Regions from separate parts of the Homo sapiens genome. Here all the other regions are linked to region 3. The links are contacts of gene promoters, found by promoter capture Hi-C in human tissues and cell types (Jung and others, 2019). All regions are on one chromosome and are shown on one strand. The core of a region is centred on a gene start or on the middle of the fragment in contact, and the rest is flanking DNA. Distances in the headings are between cores, read along the strand shown. Region 1 overlaps TSPOAP1 (TSPO associated protein 1). Region 2 overlaps LOC105371841 (a long non-coding RNA gene). Region 3 holds the start of MPO (myeloperoxidase).

What was found. The method cuts DNA at HindIII sites, captures the fragments that hold promoters and counts their contacts. A contact is called where the count stands out against the background at its distance.
Region 1: a contact is called between a fragment that was not itself captured here and the fragment with the promoter of MPO in region 3, in 1 of the 25 tissues and cell types used here (adrenal gland).
Region 2: a contact is called between a fragment that was not itself captured here and the fragment with the promoter of MPO in region 3, in 2 of the 25 tissues and cell types used here (bladder and pancreas).

The regions. Positions count from the first base shown.
Region 1 is chr17:58,320,332-58,323,967 of GRCh38, reverse strand. TSPOAP1 (TSPO associated protein 1) reads left to right here. Exons shown (of 32, transcript NM_004758.4): 6 at 423-500; 7 at 587-670; 8 at 929-1,018; 9 at 1,192-1,314; 10 at 1,556-1,660; 11 at 3,387-3,437. Among named protein-coding and RNA genes, the nearest start is that of TSPOAP1-AS1, 3.3 kb to the left of the region's middle. The HindIII fragment of the contact is 5,479 bases long and covers 1-3,636 here.
Region 2 is chr17:58,227,941-58,231,766 of GRCh38, reverse strand. All of the region lies in intron 1 of LOC105371841 (a long non-coding RNA gene), which reads right to left. Among named protein-coding and RNA genes, the nearest start is that of LPO, 8.7 kb to the left of the region's middle. The HindIII fragment of the contact is 3,843 bases long and covers 343-3,826 here.
Region 3 is chr17:58,279,030-58,282,472 of GRCh38, reverse strand. It overlaps MPO (myeloperoxidase), which reads left to right and starts at 1,538. Exons shown (of 12, transcript NM_000250.2): 1 at 1,538-1,868; 2 at 2,014-2,107; 3 at 2,459-2,634; 4 at 2,827-2,950; 5 at 3,047-3,176; 6 at 3,259-3,443. The coding sequence starts at 1,715. RefSeq lists promoters at 258-458, 504-729, 614-1,015, 1,408-1,548, 954-1,548 and enhancers at 588-605, 3,190-3,443. The HindIII fragment of the contact is 18,673 bases long and covers 1-3,443 here.

The DNA of each region.
Region 1 (3,636 bases), core at 438-2,937, 41 kb before region 3:
TACAGAACCCCTATCTTGGGGAACACCACATCCCCGGGGGCCCAGGCAGCCTCCTAGTTCTCTGCCAGTCGCTGAAGGACACCCAGGACAGTTATTGAGTGCAGAGCAGGGCTGCTGCTGGAAGCTAAAAAGGGAAAGCTTTGGCCTGGATAAAGGACCCATCTCCCAGGGCACACGTGGGTCCCAGGATCTCAAAGCACTTATGGCTCCAGGACACAGGGGTGCAGCCTTTGTACTTACACATCAGCTGGAGACAATGGGAGGTGGGTGGGCAGACAGTACCCCTCTTTGCTCTTGCTAGGCAGGGATCTCTTGCTGGCTGAATGATGGGGTGGGAACCTGCTCTGGGCAGGCTGGGCTGGGGCAGGCTGCCCTGGGGCCCTGTTCTCAGGTGCCAGCCCCTTGCCCCTGGGCATTTCCAGGCCACGCCCCAGGAGGATGCGGACAACCTACCCGTGATTCTAGGGGAGCCAGAGAAAGAGCAGAGGGTGCAGCAGCTGGTAAGTCCTAGGTCAAGGGCTGGAGGCAGCCTGCTGTGGGCAGATGTACCTTCCCTCATGAGGAGCACTTGGTTCTGACCCCTCAGGAATCGGAGCTCAGCAAGAAGCGGAAGAAATGCGAGAGCCTGGAGCAGGAAGCCCGGAAAAAGCAGAGGCGATGTGAGGAGCTGGTGAGCTCTTGAGGGCAACCCAGAGGCCAGCTCCTCCCTTCACCCCGGCCAGCCAGGTGGTGGGCTCCCTCTCAGCTCTGCTCCCACCCCTGCTGCCCTCAAGAACACATTTTCCCTCCTGCTCCTTTCCTTTCCTGGCTGGTGCAGGTTCCAGCAGGGGAGGAAGGCCTTGCCTGGGAGGAGGGCAGGGTCCTCTGTGTGGGGAGAGGGGGAATGTGGGTGCTGGGCTCCCTCCTGAGAGCTCCTCTGCCCGCTCAGGAACTGCAGCTGAGACAAGCGCAGAATGAGAATGCCCGCCTGGTGGAGGAGAACTCCCGGCTCAGTGGGAGAGCCACAGAGAAGGAGCAGGTACCACTTCCGCCCAGGTGCTGTGGAGACCTGTGCTCCCACCACTGCCCCGGTCCCCAGCCAAGGGGCTTTCTCCTCCACCCCTGAGCAGGGGTAGGGTACTGTTCCCCCTGTGAGGGTGCTGGTGGGTCAAGGCTCACCCACCCAACTCCCTGTCACTGCCCCCTCGCCAGGTGGAGTGGGAGAATGCGGAGCTGAGGGGCCAGCTCCTGGGGGTGACACAGGAGAGGGACTCAGCCCTTCGCAAGAGCCAGGGCCTGCAGAGCAAGCTGGAGAGCCTGGAGCAAGTGCTGAAGGTGAGGAGATGGTGCAGGTGGGAGAGGGTGCTGGGCCCTGGCATGGGGAGCAAGTGGGACAGCAGAATATTCTTAGTGAGGGGCACTAGCTCTGAGGCCTGGGCCTGGAGCTGCTCCAGGCTCAGTTTCCTTTGTAATAGAGGAATCTGGAGCAAATGGTGTTTGAGGCTTCCTCATCTTAGATCTTCTCTAGAAATGGCCAAGTAGGGGCTCTGGCCTTGACTCAGATCTTGTGTTTCAGCACATGCGGGAGGTGGCCCAGCGGCGGCAGCAGCTGGAGGTGGAGCATGAACAGGCTCGGCTCAGCCTACGGGAGAAGCAGGAGGAGGTCCGGAGACTGCAGCAGGTGGGGCGGCAGTGAGGGAAGCTGGCAGGCTGCTGGACACCAGCTTTGCCACTCACTCATTCCACAAGCATTTACTGTGTGCCCGGCACTGTGCTAGGCGTCGGGGAGACTGTGGGGAACAAAGACCAGGTCCCTGAGCAGTCAGCAAATTAGCATCCAGGAGTGAGCTGATTTCAGACACTGATGAGCACAGTGGTGGAGAAGAACAGGGTGATGTGACAAAGTGACTGGGATGGGGTGAGGAGCCACTTTAGAGGTCATCAGGGAAGGCCTCCCTGAGGAGGTGACAATTGACCTTGCCAGCCAGGAGGTGTAGACATGCACATGCTCTGTGGCAGGGAAGAGCTGAAGAAGCCTGAGACCAATGTGGCTAGAATACAGCAAGGGATGGGCAGCGTGGTGGGAGTAGACAAGAACCCGATCCTGTCGGGCCTTAACGGCCATGGGAAGAGTTTGGGTATTTTGCTCTGTGAGTAGATAGAAGCTCCTGAAAGATCCTAAGTGGGGGAGTGACATGATCTGAGTCATAATTTTACAGGATCACATGGCTGGTATTATGGAGGGTGGACTGTGGGAGCAGGCGTGGAGCAGGGCCTGGGCGGTGGCCTGGGAGGGAGATGGTGGCTGTCTGGACAGAGATGCATGCAGTGGAACGGGAGACAAGTGCCTGGGTTTGAGTTATGTTTTAGAGATAGAACTGACAAGGTTCTGGCCGGGCATGGTGGCTCATGCCTGTCATCCCAGCACTTTGGGAGGCCAAGGTGGGTGGATCAGTTGAGGTCAGGAGTTCGAGGCCAGCCTGGCCAATATGGTGAATCCCCGTCTCTACCAAAAATACAAAAATTAACCTGACATGGTGGCGGGCCCCTGTAGTCCCAGCTACTCAGGAGGCTGAGGCAGGAGAATTGTTTGAACCCGGGAGGCAGAGCTTGCAGTGAGCTGAGATCGTACCATTGCACTCCAGCCTGGGCGACAGAGCGAGACTCCATCTCAAAAAAAAAAAAAAAGAATTGACAAGGATCCCCGTGGGATTCCAGTTGAATCCCTTCTCTGACAGCCATTTGCTGTATAAACCTTGGTGGAGGGTGGGGCTCTTCATACTCCGTGAGGTGAAGGATGAAGGGGCAGCAGATCTGAGAGGTAGGTCATCCCGAGTGCTGAGTTCCATTTGGGCCATGTCTGAGCTGCGCGTTAAACATTCAAGGGGAGCTGTCCACAGGCACTTGGATACATGAGCCTGGGGTTATGGGTAAGTTGGTCTTGGAGATATTTGGAGCCACCAGTGTGTTTAGTTGTATGAGTAGATGGGAGCCCTAGGAAGAGAGTAGACAATATAAACTGGGCCCAGCACTGGGTCCAGGGTAACCCTAACATTCAAAATGGGGGACAGGGAGCAGGCAAAAGAGGCTGAGAAGGAGCATCCAGAGAGGTAGGGGGGAAACTGGGAGGATGGTTGCTCAGGAAAGAGGGGAGCTGACTCAGCCACGCTTCTCCTGGTCCCCTTTGCCTTCTGGTCTAAGGTATGGTTCAGGGTGGGTGTTCAGGAGGGAGAAACCCTTCGGCCTCCCCCTTCCCTATCCCTCTTCCCTCTCTCCCTACCCTTTTCTTTCTCCCGGCTTCTTCCTCCCCTGCCTCTGTCCTTTCTACCCTTCCTCCCTCGCAGCCCTCTCTACTCCACCCCATTCCTTCTCCTTCCCTCCAGTATTTTGGTTCCCCCCACCTGTAGGCCCAGGCTGAAGCCCAGAGGGAACATGAAGGAGCCGTGCAGCTGCTGGAGGTAGGGCGCCTGGAAGTGGCCCCCAGTTCCACCATCTTGGGAGGAAGGCGGGGGTCCTCCAGATAGAGCTGAAATGGACTATGGCGGTGGGGAGAGGGGTTGCAGGAGGGGCCCTTAAATGCTCCAGGACCTGGGGGAGTCCCCTCCACCACTGGCCTATTTCTCAGGGTGGGCACGGCTGGGCAGGGGGCTCCCAAGT
Region 2 (3,826 bases), core at 1,015-3,514, 51 kb after region 3:
TCCAAGAAACCTAATGTGGAAGTTCCCTCTTTTAACATAATTATGTTGTTTCACTACAAGTTGCTGGGGTTCAAGAAATCATTAATTGGGCTACTTTAAGAGCATAATGTAATTCCAATCTGCAAAAATATAGGAAATATGACATTCTCTAGAAATGGATTTAAGCATAGATCTAGGACTCATAAATAACAAGGCAGTGTTTTGACCCTGGTGATATTTGCCAAGTAAGTATAGCAAGGGGATTTTAGTCAGCCTGGCTTTGCCTCATCATGATTTATATTTGTCTGATTCTTTTAAAAAGTAAGCTTAGAGTTTGAACAACATTTCAGAAGCCTCTGGTTCAGTGATTCCCAAAGGTTGCATCTGAATCAGTGGAAAGCTTGGGAAAAATACAGGCATCCAGACTCTGCTCCTGGTCTACAGAATTCCAGCTCTGGCATTGGAGTTGGAGAACCTCTATTTCTAATAAATCTCCTGGGTGAGTCTGACATACGGGTAGATTTGGAAACTACTAATCTAGCTGAACTTTCTACCCTCTGTAGGATTCCCCACTACATCCTTGCTCCTCAAGGTATGATCCAAAGTCTTATAGCATTGGAATCTTCTGGGAGCTACTCAGAAATACAGAATCTCAGGCCCCACCCAGATGTACCAAATCAGAATCTGCATTTTCACAAAATCCCCAGGTCATATTTATTTACATTAAAGCTGACAGATGGTCATCAAGTCACTGCTTGAACACTTCCGGGGTTGGGGAGCTCAGTATTTACATGGCAACCTGCTTCATTGCTGGGAGGCTCTAATTATCTAGCTCTTTCTTATAGCAAGCTCACTCACTCATTCATGCATTCATTCTACAAATATGGGCAGACTCTAAAAAGTTGACCAAGATGACATAGTCACGTGATCACATTTCAGCCATTTTTAAATTTCAGTTCATAGGCAGAGAGAACCTCTTTTTTTTTTTTTTTTTTTTTTTTTTGATGGAGTCTCACTCTGTCACCCAGGCTGGAGTGCAGTGGCTCAACCTTGGCTCACTGCAACCTCCGCCCCCGGGTTCAAGCAATTCCCCTGCCTCAGCCTCCCGAGTAGCTGGGATTACAGGCACTGCCACGGCGTCCAGCTAATATTTGTATTTTTAGTAGAGACGGGGTTTCACCATCTTGGACAGGCTGGTCTTGAACTCCTGACCTTGTGATCCACCTGCCTCGGCCTCCCGAAGTGCTGGCATGAGCCACCGTGCCCCGCCAAGAGAGAACCTCTCTTAACAGAGATGTATTTTCTTGTTTTCACATAGGCCAGTGTGAAACTAAGGGCCTGTCTCTTGTAGAACCTTACTGAGGGCTGTAAGAAGTTGGTAACACAATCCAATATCCTGAATTTTCCCCACCATCCTCCTAATGCAACAGCCTGCATAGTATGTGGTCCCCATTCCCAGACACATCAGTGTAACTCCTTCCTATCCAAAGTGTGGTCCATGGCTCAGCAGCAGTGGCACCACCTGGGAGCTTGTTAGGAACGCAGACTCTCAGTTCCCACCAAATCAGGATCTTCATTTGAACAAGATCCCCAGGTGATTTTTTTGCACATTAAACTTCAACAGGCAGAGAAACCAGTTCTATTTCACAATCCCTTAAATAGGATTGCTAACTTTCTAGCTCATGAGCAAGCCCTATCTCTTCAGCCAATTCCATCAAGTATAAGCCTGTTAATTGCAGCATGCCTACTTCCAGGCACACATTCCGTATTACTTAGCATGCGTTTGCTGGGCCCAGGTCACCAACAAACTAGCTCAAATTGGCTTAACTAACAAGGCAAATTTCAAATTGAATGCTGGGCACATGGATGGTGATTATACGATTTGTTCCATATTTGTGTTGCTGTTGTTGGTGTAATTTTTTTTAGTTGTGGTAAAATACACATAATATAAAATTTACCATCTTAACCATGTTTAAGTGTACTGTTCAGTTTTGTCAAGTATTCACATTGCTATGCAACCAATAATTGTTCCATATTTTTTGATCATTTGAAAAAAAAAAAAACCTCTAACAAGAATCCAGGGATAGGGTTGACTTCAGGGTTGAATTACTTCAATGGGCCTGGCTTCCTTCACCCTGCAGTTCTCCTGGCTTTACCTCCTCTCAGCTTCAACTCCATCCTTCCCTTGCAGGCAAAATGGCACACAACCCCCTGCAGGGGAAGGCAGAGAATCTCACAGAAGAGAAAGAATAGCTTTCCCAGAAATCCTGGCAAGCTTTTTCTTACGTCTCACTGGCCTGAATTGGAACATGTGCCTGTTCCTTAATTGGCAAAGATATTTTAAGGGTCATTAGATTATTGCTGTAGAAAGATCACTTGGCTTTAGGGTGGGGAAGAGGTGGAGGGTAGGACTGCAGAGAGGAAGGTCAGGAGGCACCCTGTTGCAATGACGAAGGTAGGAACTAATGGTATCCTGGAAAGAGGTAGTGCCTGGTGGTCCTGGAGGTGGAGAGCTGGGAAAGGATTCCAGAGATGTTAATGCGATTGAAATCTTAATTTTCTTCCGTTCAAAGACTAAAAATACCTTTCCCTTCACCCTCTCTCAAGAGAGCAATTAAAGCTTTGTGTCCTGGAGGGCAGAATTTTCTTTGTCTTTGGGAAGATTAACAAGCCTTTGTTTTGAAAAAACAAAATAAACAAGCAAATAAACAATAGACCAAACTAACCAAACAAATAACAACAAACAAAAACACAAGTGACAAACAAACATAGCTCACAGGGCTAGGGAGCTCAATTGAGGTACGGTGGGGGGTGGGGGAGGGAGGAGGGAGAATGGAGAGGAAACTGGTAGGTTGCTGAAGCCTATAGGGTTGGAGGGATTGGTTAGTTACCTTGGAGATGCAGGACCAAGAAACAGGGAATTTCAGCTCTCTTGCAGCATTCCTGCACGGGGCAGAATTCCTGCATGGACCTCTGACAGGGTGGCACATGGATATCTGGGACTGGACTCTATAGGCTGTGGTCTTTGGAGGCCAAGTTAGTCACCAGGAGGAAGATGGACACGGTAAGCAGAGAGCAGCCTGCTCAGCTGGGAGCTTGGGGCATGACCACCCCAGCACTGACCAGCATGGATTGGAGGCCCCTTTCTGGGGCGTAGGAACTCTGCACTGAGTCCAGGAAGTGGAAGGGGCCACAATAACAACATTGAACATCGCATCAGCTCTGCTGAGGGGGAGCTTGGAGACAGGTTTAATTTAACAATATAAATTATTCTAATTATTCACATATAATGATAGTGACAGGAGGCAGCCAAATGCCTAGACAGACAGGGTTGGGTACCCACCTCCAAGTCGAAGACAATTTAAATCCTGAAAGCCAAGCTACAAGTTAAATCCTTGGACTGGATTGAGAACTTGTCCTCCTGTTTGATGTGCTTTCCTCTGATTGATCCCCATCCTTCACCTATTTCACATATATCTAGCTTTTCCTAATTGGTTTTCTACACAGTCATGCCCACCTTTGAGTGGTGTTTTCACTTTAACTTTTTTTGCATACTCACAGACCAATCAGCACGCACTCCCCATCTTGTGCCTATAAAGACCCCAGGCTCAGTCAGTAGAAGAGGAGACTCCTGACTTTGTGAAGAGACAACCTGACTTTGGGGAAGATGACCTGCCCTTCTCATTGCCTCTCCTATTCCCCTATCCACTGAGCCATTTTTATCATTCACTAAAATTCTCCACCTTTGCCATCCTTCAGCTGTCCATGTGACTTCATTTTTCTTGGACCCTGGACAAGAGCTTGGGACACTTTACCCAGAAAGGTTGTCACACTGGCCCTTTGCCCT
Region 3 (3,443 bases), core at 289-2,788:
AAAATACAAAATATTAGCCGGGCATGGTGGCGGGCGCCTGTAATCCCAGCTACTTGGGAGGCTGAGGCAGGAGAATTGCTTGAACCCAGGAGGCAGAGGTTGCAGTGAGCCGAGATTGCACCACTGTACTCCAGCTCCGCCAACAGTGAGAGACCCTGTCTCAAAAAAAAAAAAAAAAAAAAAGAGTGGGTGGCGGGAAGGTGGCTGAAGGTAGGAGGGGGAACCTAAATGGGACATGGGAGGCATGGTTGGCACGAGCTCAGCCTGACCAGGGCCCAGAGAGGTAGACTGATTCAGTCAAAAGTCGTAGTACTTTTCCTGCTGAGATTGGTGGCCCTTTTGCTGGGCTTTCTCAAGCAAGAAATATCCTCTTCTGTTTCAGAATTATTCTGAATCATTAACCCAAGTCCTCCCAACTGCACTGATCCTGTCCCAGAGAGGCCCTGGGCTGCATCACCTAACTGATCACTAACCACAACCAGTTCTGCTCTCTCCTGGTTCCTGAAATCCAGGAGCAGATGGTGGTGGGGAGGAGGAGTTTGGAGACAGCCCTCTACCAGAAGCCAAGAAGAAAGGGGAGTGAGGAGGGATAGAGGAAGTTATCTTGGTCCTGCGCCCACAGTCCCCAGGGTCCTCCTTCCTGTGAAGCCCAACGGTCTCCAGCCAGATTTCCTGTCCCCTTAGCCCCACCAAGAACCAGAGGCTGCCCATTGGGTGGCTGTTGGATGCAGGTTACTGTTGGAGTGGGGGATGGCCACCTGAGGCCAATTGGGTCATCTTTACTCCAGGTCTCCCTTTCATCCTCCTGTCTTCCCTGGGGGCACTCTATTCCCTGCAATTCCTTGGGCTACCAGTTCCTGACTTTTGTTCCTTTCAAAGGAACCCTGGATAACCAGTGTAACCAGAATTTCAGAGGGGTTAGTTGTGTGTATCCCCTGGGGACAAGCACTGGTATAGGCACACAATGGTGAGCTGAGAAATCTTGGGCTGGTAGTGCTAAATTCAAAGGCTGGGGACAGGCTGGGGCCAGTGGCTCATGCCTGTAATCCCAGCACTTTGGGAGGCTGAGGCGGGTGGATCACTTGAGGTCAGGAGTTCAAGACCAGCCTGGCCAACATGGTGAAACCCTGTATCTACTAAAAATACAAAAATTAGCTTCTTGCCTAAGGAAAAATACAAAAATTACTTCTTGCCTAAGGAAATAATTGATGATGTGGCTAGAGGCTAGGGCGTGGTGGCGGGCACCTGTAATCCCAGCTACTCGGGAGGCTGAGGCAGAAGAATCGCTTGAACCATTGCACATCAGCCTGGGCAACAGAGCAAGATAACGTCTCAAAAAAAAAAAAAAAAAAGGCTGGGGACAATGCTGGCCCCTCCTTTCCTGCCCCTTCCCCCCATTTCAGGGGCCCCTCTGTGTGTACCTTCCAACCCCAGTGGGGGAGGAGAAAGAGTTCAGTCTCCAGGATCAGACCTTCCTCTACCTCACCCCACCCCCAGCTTAGAGGACATAAAAGCGCAGATTGAGCTAAGAGGAGCTGACAATATCAGGTGAGCTGTGGAGGTGGGGTCCTTGGAAGCTGGATGACAGCAGCTGGCAAGGGGATAAGAGAGCAGTGAGCCCCTCCCTCAAGGAGGTCTGGCTTTATCCATAGACAGGGCCCTCTGAGGTGGGGCTGAGGTACAAAGGGGGATTGAGCAGCCCAGGAGAAGAGAGATGGGGGTTCCCTTCTTCTCTTCTCTCAGATGCATGGTGGACTTAGGACCTTGCTGGGCTGGGGGTCTCACTGCAGAGATGAAGCTGCTTCTGGCCCTAGCAGGGCTCCTGGCCATTCTGGCCACGCCCCAGCCCTCTGAAGGTGCTGCTCCAGGTAACAGTTCCCAAGGTGGGAGAAGATGGTGTGTTGGGGTGGTTGTGTTCCAGAGACCCCTTTTCTCAGAGCAGGCCTTCCTAGCTCTGGGGCCTGATAGGGGGTTGGGGCCCATTCCTGACTTTGTGATCCCTGCTCTGGGCAGCTGTCCTGGGGGAGGTGGACACCTCGTTGGTGCTGAGCTCCATGGAGGAGGCCAAGCAGCTGGTGGACAAGGCCTACAAGGAGCGGCGGGAAAGGTGGGGCACGAGGCACTGCCCAGCTCTGGGCAAGGATGTCCCAGGCCTTTCAGAGAAGCAGCAGGCAGCAGGGAGCTTGAAGGTGGGAGAGGGGGACTATGGGGACCCATGTGGACTCCCTTTCTGTCTGTCTGTCCCTGTGTTTCTGGATGGGAGAACAGCTTAAAAGCCATCCTTCCCAAAGCCTTGCCTCTGTCTGGACACCCAGGTCCATATCCTTTTTATAAAAGGAAGCCTTCCTCCCACCCGTGGGCCTGCCTGCATGGTCCTGCATGTCTGCCCCTGGGCTGGGGCTCTGCTGGGTGGGTCTGTATCCCTTCTCTGGCCCTCACTCCTCCTTTCTCCAAGCAGCATCAAGCAGCGGCTTCGCAGCGGCTCAGCCAGCCCCATGGAACTCCTATCCTACTTCAAGCAGCCGGTGGCAGCCACCAGGACGGCGGTGAGGGCCGCTGACTACCTGCACGTGGCTCTAGACCTGCTGGAGAGGAAGCTGCGGTCCCTGTGGCGAAGGCCATTCAATGTCACTGGTACTGTTGCCCATCACACCCCAGGTCCCTGCTCCACTAGTGACTCCTCCTAGGGACCCCAGCCGTCTCTCAGTGATCCCCTCAACTTCTTCCTCCAGGGAGTCTCAGGAGTCTCCAGGGCTCCTCAGCCTCAGGTTGCCTGGGATAGGAAGTGAGGCGGCTCAGCTCCCCCATTGTTCTTTCCCCCGGCAGATGTGCTGACGCCCGCCCAGCTGAATGTGTTGTCCAAGTCAAGCGGCTGCGCCTACCAGGACGTGGGGGTGACTTGCCCGGAGCAGGACAAATACCGCACCATCACCGGGATGTGCAACAACAGGTGCGGCTGGCTGGGGGTGGCTGCAGGAACCGGGCTCAGAGAGGCGTCCCGGACGCCACAAGCCTCCCGGTGTCAGCGCCCTGTCCTCCCCTGCAGACGCAGCCCCACGCTGGGGGCCTCCAACCGTGCCTTTGTGCGCTGGCTGCCGGCGGAGTATGAGGACGGCTTCTCTCTTCCCTACGGCTGGACGCCCGGGGTCAAGCGCAACGGCTTCCCGGTGGCTCTGGTGAGCGCCGGCGGGCAGAGGGGGCGAGGCCCGGCCACGCGGTGCGCGGACCCAGGCGCCAGCTGATCTCCGTGTCCCGCAGGCTCGCGCGGTCTCCAACGAGATCGTGCGCTTCCCCACTGATCAGCTGACTCCGGACCAGGAGCGCTCACTCATGTTCATGCAATGGGGCCAGCTGTTGGACCACGACCTCGACTTCACCCCTGAGCCGGCCGCCCGGGCCTCCTTCGTCACTGGCGTCAACTGCGAGACCAGCTGCGTTCAGCA